2 separate regions of the Homo sapiens genome follow, and region 2 is linked to region 1. The links are contacts of gene promoters, found by promoter capture Hi-C in blood cells and fetal thymus (Javierre and others, 2016). All regions are on one chromosome and are shown on one strand. Each heading gives the region's core, a stretch centred on a gene start or on the middle of the fragment in contact. The rest is flanking DNA. Distances are from core to core; before and after follow the strand shown.

What was found. Contacts are between HindIII fragments. The CHiCAGO score rates a contact against its expected background, and 5 or more counts as called.
Region 2: the fragment with the promoter of ABHD17B here is called in contact with a fragment that was not itself captured in region 1 in 1 of 17 cell types (fetal thymus); the score reaches 5.5 in fetal thymus.

The regions. Positions count from the first base shown.
Region 1 is chr9:73,126,570-73,132,198 of GRCh38, forward strand. No RefSeq gene overlaps it. Among named protein-coding and RNA genes, the nearest start is that of ANXA1, 22 kb to the right of the region's middle. The HindIII fragment of the contact is 348 bases long and covers 3,692-4,039 here.
Region 2 is chr9:71,908,553-71,914,178 of GRCh38, forward strand. ABHD17B (abhydrolase domain containing 17B, depalmitoylase) reads right to left here and starts at 2,641. Exons shown (of 4, transcript NM_001025780.3): 1 at 2,082-2,641. It overlaps C9orf85 (chromosome 9 open reading frame 85), which reads left to right and starts at 3,087. Exons shown (of 4, transcript NM_182505.5): 1 at 3,087-3,284. The coding sequence starts at 3,183. RefSeq lists a silencer at 2,165-2,404 and enhancers at 2,855-3,164, 3,235-3,284, 3,295-3,354. The HindIII fragment of the contact is 4,051 bases long and covers 1,635-5,626 here.

The DNA.
Region 1 (5,629 bases), core at 2,616-5,115:
TTATTCTATTAAAAGTTGAATTGTGTTTGGGATATTTTCTATTGTATGGGTATAAACAATGTCCCCACATAAATTCATTCTTGAAGATAACCCAAAGCCCCTTTTACATTAATTTCTCATGTCACTTATAAAGTAACATGCAACATTTTCAATTTCTATTATTAAAAATAGTACTAAATGATTTCACATCAATTCTTATATTTGACAGAATAAAAATATAATCACCTAATTTTTGTATATATTTATATAAAATATTCCTAATTTGAATAAAAAATACTATACCACATTTACCATTTTGTATCTCTTTCTATTAAGAACTGCATCTCTATGTTTTGTTCTTAAAAGTTTGAAAGCTGGATCATCATTCTTGTAATTTTTTTAGATAATAAGAAAGATGTTAGGTATATTAATTTTGGAGTTAAAGATTCATAGTAAATATCTTTTGCAGGCAATGAATATGTAAAATTATAATCCCAGGTAAAGATAACAACCATACAAACAGGCCGGATACAGTGGCTCACGCCTGTAATCCCAGCACTTTGGGAGGTCAAGGCAGGTGGATCACGAGGTCAGGAGTTCGAGACCAGCCTGGCCAACATGATGAAACCCAGTCTGTACTAAAAATACAAAAATTAGCCAGGCGTGGTGGCATGCACCTGTAATCCCAGCTACTCGGGAGGCTGAGGCAGGAGAATTGCTTGAACCCAGCAGGCGGAGGTTGCAGTGAGCCAAGGTCGTGCCTCTGCACTCCAGCATGTGTGACGGAGCAAGATGCCGTCTCAAAAAAAAAAAAAAAAAAATCATACAAACAATAGAGATGAGGAGCGAAAAAAGTAAGATCAACTTTAACATTTTACTATATGGTAGAATGTCATTCAATGAGTCATTATATTAATTAGATTTGGAAATATAAAATTATGTACAATCAGATTTAACAAAGTAGACTAAAATATGGGTCTTATTATTAGTCCTTTATGGAAGCAAAGAGGTTCTGCCACTTGTGTGATTGTTTACTGCATTTTTTTCTTACATATAGACAACAATTCTCAAAGTTGGCTATGCATTTTGTTTTTTAGGACTGTGATGGAAATCCCTGTGTGTGCAGTTAAGAAAACAGAATTTAATATATATTAAACTAAGCAGAGGCTTTAATAGTAATCAATCAACTAAGTGTTCTTTTTATTCTTCCAGTATCCTAGACTTTCCTTATCCTCGGTTAATGTTGTACCTGGTGGTCTAAATTGATCATTCTGTGGGGGACACATTTCCTCAGCCTTGAAGGAACTGTGCTCTTGGTACCCTGCCCTCATCCTACTACAGCTGCTGTATTTACTCATTCACTTTTATCAGCAGGTGGAGAAACGTCAAGATGTATCCAAATGATCTTCCCGGGTCCATAGTTGATACTCTATTATATAAAAGCTATCCTGGGTAAACTTTTTAGAGCAGCCTACATTGACCAAGTATGAGTGGCAATTTCAGGTTCCTTTTCTGGAAAAAACAGGATGTCTAATGGAGCAAAAGCTAAAATTGTGAGGACAGAAATCAGGTGTTCTGCAAATGGTTTCCTGGCAATGAAGGCTTAGGGCCAGAGAAGACACCATGGGTGCTCTTCCCTCTGATGGCTCTTTCACTACATTCATAGCTGCCTCAGTGTGCTCTCAGTCCCATGAGACAGCACCCTGTGATTATCAGTGGCTGCTGTATTAGTTTGCTAGGGGTGTCTTTAAGACTGGGTGTCTTAAACAATAAACATTTATTTTCTCAAGGTCCAGAAGCCAGAAATGTAAGATTAAAGCATCAGCAGGTTTGGTTTTTCTGAGAAAACTCTCTCACGTGGTATGGCAAGGAGAGAGGCCATTTCTCTTTAAAGGCCCTATCTCCAAAACAAGTCACATTCTGATGTACTGTGGGTTAGGACCTTAACTTATGAATCTGGGTGAGGGACCTGCAATTCAGGCTGTCACAACCACTTTATCTGCACAAAAGGGAACTAAATATGCCTGGAAATTTACATTCCCTCAGTCATAGCTCTAAATCAATGACTGGTAGGTGCACAGGTAAGACTTTACCTCTATTGACCAATTCAGAGTTGAGATCTATACTGTGCCCAGAAATGCATGGCAGGCTTGAACAAAAGATGTACTTCATTGGAAATTGCTTGATAATGCATCCTTTATTGGTCTTCTTCTGTTATTATTCCCATTTCTCTGTAATTTCTTGGGAATATACTCTAATACATAAGTTACACACAAATTTTCATCATAAGATTTGTCTTTCGAATGCTGTTATGGGTTGAATTGTGTCCTTTAAAAATATATCTTAAGGTCCTAACCTGTAAATATGACCTTATTTGGAAATGCAATCATTGTAGATGTAATTAAGGTAGGGTGAGATAATGACACTATGTTAGAGTGGGCCCTAAATCCAATATGAATGGTGCCATTATAAGAAGAGGGAAACTTGGACACAGAGATAGAGACACTCAGGGAGAATGTTATCTGACCACAAGGACACAAAAAGGAGAGTGCCATGTGAAACCAGATGTAAATATTGGAATGGTGCATCTATAAGCCAAGCAATGGCAAAGATTGCCAGCAAACCACCAGAAGGCAGGAGAGAAGCACAGGACATAATTTCGTTTGGAGCACCCAGAGGAAATCAACCCTACCGAGACCTTAATTTGGAACTTCTATCCTCCAGAAGTGTGAGAGACTAAATTTCTGTTGTTATATGCCAGCAAGTTTGTGGTACTTTCTTATAGCAACCCTAGGAAACTAATGAAGAAACGCAACTTGAAAATAGGTTATTTCAGAAGTGGTCCTAGGAAGCATACACTTAGGAAGGGATTCTGAGTTAGATCACTTGCCATCTGGATAACAACTGGATCACACTGTTGGAGATTAAACTGTTAAAAACTGAAAACTCTAGCACTGTCATTGCATAACTTTTGCCAGTGGTGAGTTGGCATGGGATACAGATGAAAGGAGACTACACATGCATTTCAGAGCTATGGGGGGATTTATTAATTATAAGATTTGGAAATTGGTTGGTTGTTGCTAAGTGTCATTGTGCCGAAGAAGAAAATTGACAAGCTCAGGTTTGTCCGTTACTAACCAGGGGCATGGTATGAAAGATTGGAGGACTCCAGGGCAGCATTTAAAGAAACCCATGCTTTCTATAGCTAGAAGACAGATTGAAAGGAAGACTGGATGATAAACTTTACTATAAAAGTAGTAGAAATACAACAAAAGATGAGTTAATAGCCTTGGCAAGGTTTTATGCTAAGTCAGAACCCTGATAGAGATGGTGCAGAGAATTGTAGGTGGATGTGCTCAAAATTATAGAACTCGCAGATTCCTTTGAACCCCTGGGCATATAAGAGTGGCTTATTTAGTTTTGCTGGAACATAGCAGCTTTCTCTTGCTTGAAGGCCACACCAAAACCTCAACCGAGATGGATGCCTTTGACGATGATATTTGTCCTTATCAAGATCTGACTTCACTTTCTCTCCTGTCTTCTAGTTCTGTATCTAAGTCTCAGCATGGGCCAACCAGGGAAGGGAAAAAATTACTCTCCAAAAGAACATCAAGACGTGATTAATTTGCAGCAAAAGGAATCAGGACAGCATGCCAGGAAGTATATCTTGATAGCGCTGGATTGGGGTGAGAGCTGGGGATAGTGAGAGAGAAGCTTGATAAAGGAACATTTGTCAACAAGGGAACATTCTTCCATGACTGAAAACTCCCTAACAAGAGCACCTGGGAATGGTTCTAATACGCTGCTTGGATGGTTACTAAAAGTTCTGTAGGGGGAAGAAAAAGGCTCACATTAAATTAAGCAGAGATGACAGAACTGCTTTAGCAGAGTTTTGAGGAAGGGCTCAAAAGGCTCAGAGAAGTGAGCATGCTAGAATGATTCTATTGTGTAACACCAGAGAGACTACCAGCTGATTATGTTCATTGAAGGGCCAGAGAACATTCTCATCACAAAGCTGATAAGGAATGTGCTATTGATGGAGGGATTGGCATATTTGAGAAGCTTAGTGATAGCTGGACCGAAGTTGACAGTAGGCAATACTGTTAGAGAACTGGGCTCCCTAGTGTCAATGGAAATGATTATATTCCAGAATATCAGGGGTCAAGTGCAATATAGTCAACCACTAGAGATCTATGGTGATGGCTGATATCCCAAGGTGTTTATCGAGAAAAAATAGATGGATAGACAACAAGAGCGTGGTTGGCTATACATAATCAAGGATGATTAAAACTGGATGAGCAATTGGAAGCCTCATGTCATCAATGCCCACGGAATATTACTTCTTGACCCAGTTTAAAAACCTGCACCAATTCTCAGACCCACAGAAGGAAGCTGCAATGCCACAAGCATACACAGCAGAGATTTCTGTGCATACAGTTGTATACATTTTAAAAATAATCCACTTATAATTTGAATTACAACCAGGGAGTCCACTATGCATATTCTAGTCTCTTTATCTTGGGTAATGATGCTTCTCGTCTCTGGAATACCCTTTGGCACCTTCTCTATGTGAGTGCTATTTCATGTTTTAAGGCTTACAGTAACCTTTCTCGATGACCTCTATCTCTTAGTAGAAATCACGTTCTCCAAACAGCTATCTTGTTCATTTAACATTTACTATATTCAGTTTTGAATGGTTGTTAAAATTTTTATGTAAATAAAAGTTTTTTGGAATTGTCCATTTGATATATTTAATTTATTCCATTTATTAAACTTGAAGTAGACCTTCGAGAATCAATTATTATTGATTCTCAAAATGCAAATATTATTATAGTTATCCCTTTATCCTAGATTGTTAATTGGTTGAATTATTTGAAATCCTTGAGATAAACTAAAATAGACAGGAATACTTAATACAGAATGATTAACTTGGGTAGATAGACAGATTAAACTTAGCTTTTGTTTAAAAGCTGGAATTCTAAGTAGTCAACATCAGATGAGTCAAATGAAAATTGATACCCATTGTAGAACTAATGAATGGTCTTGCAGTTTAAGTCCTTTCTTAACTCTGTCATCTTTTACTTTGTAATGACTAAAAAGCTACAATTACTATCACAGGAGTCTTCAGTATGTTACCATGCCAAAACTGGGAAATGTGGCTGGCTGTTTCCTAATGGAAAATTGTTAGCTTCTTGGCGACATGAAGAAAAGGATGTTGGGATTGCCCTTTCAGACATCAAAATTCATTACAAAACTTTAGAAATTAAGATACTGTGGTACCGGGAACGAGAAAGATCAAAAAATAGACGGAAGAGAACAGAGAAAATTGAAAGACATATCTATATGTCTATATCTGCACATACAAATATGCATATGCAATCACACATAGTTGATAAATCTCACAAGAAATAAAATTTAAAAGAAAGAATCAAAGTGAATATGGTGTTAGTAAAAAAAAAAGGCTATGAATTTTTGAATACTTTTTCCCAAGGTGGTGACATTCCAGCATATACTACAAACAAAAGAGGCCATTCACCGGATGATATCATCCCTTCAAAAATAAACTTATCCTCAATTTCCTGATTAAAATCAGACATTCTTCTGCTTGACAGAGGTCCTTACTTCCTGTTTTCTCTAGCATTTGCCAAGT
Region 2 (5,626 bases), core at 1,391-3,890, 1.2 Mb before region 1:
AGAAGTAAAATCTACCAGTAAATAAACCAACCAATAAAATATACTCTATTTTCTTGTCATCACTGCTTCTAAAGATCTTAACACCAATCTTAATACGGAAGAAATTTTAATTCTTAAATGATGGCATAGGGAGAGTCATTCTCCTTATCTTTATGCTAACTGTTCATCAAATGATTGAAATTCATAATATCAAAACAAAGTAAGAGCACTGCATTAAAAAGTATTCTCATTTAACTTATATCAATGTCACATAACCAGAGTAACTGTTGCTTACATGGTTCTCACTCCCCTTTTTATAAAGTGAGCAGGTGGCACATTTTATCAGCCCTATATTACAGATGGAGAAAACTGACTCAGATGTGGGATAGCGTGCCTGGAGTTGTAGACCAATTCAGTGTCAAACTTGGAACAGACACTAATTGCTTAATTCTTCTGTGTTCATTAAGCTACTAAAAACATTATTTTTTCATGATGTTTTTTGGTGATTTTGTTTGTCCCAGGAAACAGAAAATTCTTTGTCAGCAGTCATTTCATAAACATTTCAAAATGGGCAAAGATACTCAAGGAAACAAGCTACTCATCAACTAGAATACTGCACACTAAGGGACAAAATTAAAACTGCCTAGCCTGCTAAAAATCTAATCCTGTCCTTGCCAATTAACCTTATTAACACTAGAGTAGGAGAAAAGAGAGGTCAAAATATAGGTGAAGGTGCCATTCATTTCCTTCTGGATTTCAAATGATATGACAATTACTGCACAACAGAGATTTTTACCTCTGCTGTTCCTTAAGTAACACGACCCCTATTCTCCAAATAAAAACTTACCAACAAGTTGAGCAGTCTCAAATTAGAATACTAGCAATCATGACAATTTTCAAAATACTGGCTATCATTAGATGTCACCCAACTGAAATTCATGCTATAAACATATGTAGAGAAACTCTTTACGGAAAAAAGTTCATTTTAATGTAAATTTCCCTGTTAATCTAAACAGATTAACGTTATTACAACATGTATCTGGCTTTCTACTCCGACTCATTAGGTATTATAGTTTCATATGTTGGCACAAGATCTCCAAAGATTTATTAGAGGCATAAAAAAATTCCAAATGAATCATCTATAGATCAAGCATCATATATCACAAAAAGTATTAAACAGGAACACATTTCATAAACAGCGAAATTTAAAGGTCACCCTCTGTATTCCGTTATTCATCCTTTTGCTTACCAAATCTACTTCACACTGACTTAAAGCATCATTTACAAAAAATTCTCTTCTGGCATTGGCAGAGATCTCACCAAAGATCAAAGATCTGAACTTTTTTTTTTTTTAAACAAAAACCCCAGGTTAAATACACTCTTTCCTTCACGAGAGCCCCCACACAGTACAATCTAATTTGACATAACTTTGTTTCGGGGTTAAAAAAAATCCCAAACAAAACCTTTAAATTTTCCAATTCAAAAACGATTCCTGATAAGCCTACCTTAGAGTTCGAAAACAAATAAGATTAAAGCCCAACCATCTAAAGAAAAAGAACCCTACGACAGCCCCACCGGAATACACAAATCGCCAAGCCCCGTGCAGATTCAATCTAAAATCGCGCCCGACAGAGATATAAGGACATTCAGGAGAAAGCTTTTAGGCACCCGCGAATCTCTCAGTGCGCCAGTGAGGGGAATGGGAACCTGACCCCATCTTTTCATCCACTGAGAGAAAAGCAAAGGAAATGAAATGGAACCCTTCTCTTCACCGAGGAGGACCAAAGACCTTCTTAGAGTGTCGGTCGGTCCTCCCTCCCCCACCCCCTGACTCCGGCCGCTCCACGGACCGCAGGGACTGTCCTACCGCTCCCCTTCACGCAACCATCAGAGAATCCTCTCAAAAACACAGACCCGATGAGGAGTGGCTTCCCCGCCTTTCCCCTGTGCCGAGAAGGGATCCCGGTCGCCAACAACAAAGACGCTTCCCGCTCCCCTCCCCCCGCCGGCCCGGGCTCGTCCCTCCCGCGCTGCGGCTCCCGGCCTAGCGCCCCCTCCCCGAGCCGGGCTGCGGCGTCCCCAAACCCCGAGGCCGCACGCACCTGCACCTGAGCGGCCCGGGCCGAAGCGCCGGGCAGAAGGGGTCGAGAGAGAACCGCAGCCGACGCGCTGTCCTCCACAAGGCGAGATCCGCGCTCCGGGCGCCGTCCGACTCTCTCCGCCTGCAGACTGGCCCGACAGAGGAGCGGGGACCAGGGCTACAGCCCCCGGCGCCGGGGCGAAGAAGGACGGCGGCGCCCCAGGGGCCCCGCTCACGCTCCCGAGTCTCGCCTCGCGCCGGCCCTGCTCCTCCACAAGAGCTCGCGTTCTGCTGACTAACGGCCCCGGTGCGGGGCGCTGGAGCGGCCGCCGCTGCCCGTCGGTTGCTCTCGGGCCTCACGTCCCGCGCGGCCGTGGTCGCAGCCGCCGCCGCCACCGCCTCCCTTTCTGGCACTGCAGACGCCACCCAGACCTAGCCAGGTCTTCCTTCTCTTTAATCCTGCTTTCTTTGCTCCTCCTCAGCCTGCCAAGCGCGAGGCTCGTTCCGGTAGCGGGAGGAAGACTGGAGGGGAACGGAGGGGACGAGCACAATCCCCACTGAGCCAGGAGTTGGCCACTGACTGGAGGAAGGTGCCAAAGCTGACCCCGGCTCCAGCCTACTAGCGGGCGGGGGGAGAGACGGAGCCCAGCCTTGCCTCACTTCCACCAATCAGAGGCCGCCCGGCAGGGTGGGAGGCGCTCTGAGCTCAAGGAGAGGCTGAGCTCGCTCAGCAGGAGGCGGGGATTGCGGAAAAGAAGAACCAATAGGAACAAAGGTTCCCCGCCCCTTTGATTTGATGGACTACACATTCGGGCCAATGGGGGAATTCTCATTTCGAAGAAAGTGGGACTTGTTCTCCGGGTTTGAGAAAGAGGCTGCGCGGAGCCGGAGGGGTCGAGGCTGCGCCGCGTGGAGTGGCTTGGCTTAACAGCAGGGAGGGCAGAGCGATGCTCTTTGACCTCCCAGAAGAGTCACGTGGGCTGACCCAGAGCCGGGGCGGAAAGGCTGCGTTTGTTTCTTCCGGGTCATTGACAGAAGCGTCAATTCCTGGGAGTAGTTCGTTGGTTTTCTTTCCCCTCATCCTTTTGCCTGCTCCCGGCGAGGGGTGGCTTTGATTTCGGCGATGAGCTCCCAGAAAGGCAACGTGGCTCGTTCCAGACCTCAGAAGCACCAGAATACGTTTAGCTTCAAAAATGACAAGTTCGATAAAAGTGTGCAGACCAAGGTAGGAACCTGCCTGTTGCACCGTCTTTGACTCCAGGAAGGAATGGCTCACTGGAGAGGGGAGAGAGGAAATGAGAGGAGTCGGCTGGGGCGAGTGTGGACCGCAGCCCAGAGTTAGTCTTGGCTGCAGTGCAACTCTTTCTAAAATGTTATTCTCACGCCCTTTCTTTGACCTGGACATGTTGTCTCCTGGTAAATATTTGATGGTCAGCACACTTAACTAATTGCACAGAGTGAACAGGACCCTAATGAAATCTAAGGTGCAGATGGGGCAGTTACGTCGTTCAGCGTTCCCATCTGGATCACATTAGCAGAGGGAAACGAGGATTGTGGCATGAGTGGCTTTTTCAAATTTTACACCAAGTTTATGCAGCTACGATTTTTTTTTCCAAAAACCCCAAGCCCATAGAGGAAATGTGAATGATTAAGCTGTCTTAGGCTGTCCTCACTAGTATTGTGTGAAATTTCTGTTTTGTAACAATTGTTTTGAAGATAAAAATATTTGGTTAATGTAAAAATACTTGTTTTGCTGTTTATCTTTAGCAGGACTTCTGTAAAGTCCTGCTAAAAAATTCAGACTGTCTAGATAGCCAGAGGACTTGGGTTGTATATAAGTACTAATTTGCAGGCCGGGCGCCGTGGCTCAAAGTGCTGTAATCCCAGCACTTTGGGAGGCCGAAGCGGGTGGATCACCTGAGGTCAGGAGTTCGAGAACGACCTGGTCAACATGGCGAAACTCCATCTGTACTAAAAATACAAAAATTAGCCGGGCGTGGTGGCGGGCGCTTGTAATCTCAGCACTTTGGGAGGCCGAGGTGGTGGGCGGATCACCTGAGGTCAGAAGTTCGAGAACGACCTGGCCAACATGGCGAAACTCCCAATCTGCTAAAAATACAAAAATTAGCCGACGTGGTGACGGGTGCCGGTAATCCCAGCTACTCGGGAGGCTGAGGCAGGGGAATCGCTTGAACCCTGGAGGCGGTGGTTGCAGTGAGCTGAGATCACATCACTGCACTCCTGGGCGACAGAGCAAGACTCCGTCTCAAAAAACAAAAACAAAAAACTACTAATTTGCTCTTTGCTGTGAATCTCTCTCCCTGTCTCCATAGCTGTATGGAGAGAAAATCATTGACAACAGGGGCATATTAGGGGCCAGCATCACTCAGATAAACCTAATATTCACAAAAGTTATGGAGCTCAAATTTACTAGGTGTGCGGCTTGAGTGAGTTGTATAATATTTAATTTCTCTGAGCCTTACTTTGGTCTCAAATGCAAATTTGTCAGGATTGTTGGGAGGCGAAACTATATGATTATGCATAAATGGCCTAGGTCATAGTAAGTGTTCAATAAGTGATTAATTTCCCGACATTGATTGGGAAAGCAAAGTCATCTGTTTTTGGTAACCTGTGATCTCCTTTTCCTTTCCTCTTTCTTTCTTTGCTTATTCTACAAATATTTAATAAGCACCTTCCGTGTGCAAGGCCCTGTGTTCATAGGTATACCGTGTTCAAAAGAGCTGACTCTCCCTTCACGGAGTTTATAGTTTCTAGGTGATATGGGCAAAAAGAAAGCAGAAAGATAAGTAAATACAAATTATGATAAATATTGGTGAAGGGCAACACAGCTCAGTAAGGGAGAATAAGGAAGAATATTTTAAATTAAGTGCTCTCCTTTCCCCCACTTAGGTTGAGAGGTTTTTCAGAATGAAAACCTGAAGCAACATTTGGGAAGACTTTCCCAAGTTTGCTCCCATTATCAATAGGTAAACCAGAATAAAAATAAAAAGCTGCACTATTCCAAATAGATGTCTGCGTCTTGTGTATTCTTACCCTAAGGTTGTGCACAAACATTTGCTTTTGATTGTTTTTCATGTCTGTTTTCGTAAAAAGCAGTTTTAATGAGTATTTAACTATAGTGTAGCTTCTCCTACTTGTACTTTTCATTGTGCATTTTCTTGGTGTTATCTAATAACTATGTCATTCTGGTCCTAAATGTTTTCCTGGGTCTCAGGTTCAGTCACTAAGTTGCATTTGACCATTTTTATCTTTTTATCTTTAATTCCTTTCCCTCTTTTAAGTTATGAAAAAGTCTCATTTGTTAATCAGGAGGACCACCAGGCCACTTCATTATTGAAGGTTCTGACAAAAACAACACAAAATATTTTACTGAGGAAAAATCATTCGGTTGATTGTTCATCTGTGTAATGAATAGCTAATAATTGTCTGTGATCATAACAGATTCTTGCATCTGCTATGAGTAGCCATCTAAAGCCAAGACTTTGTCAGAAGCATCTGATCCTAACTTTGTGCCTGTTCTTTACACTGGAAAGCTATTTGATCTGG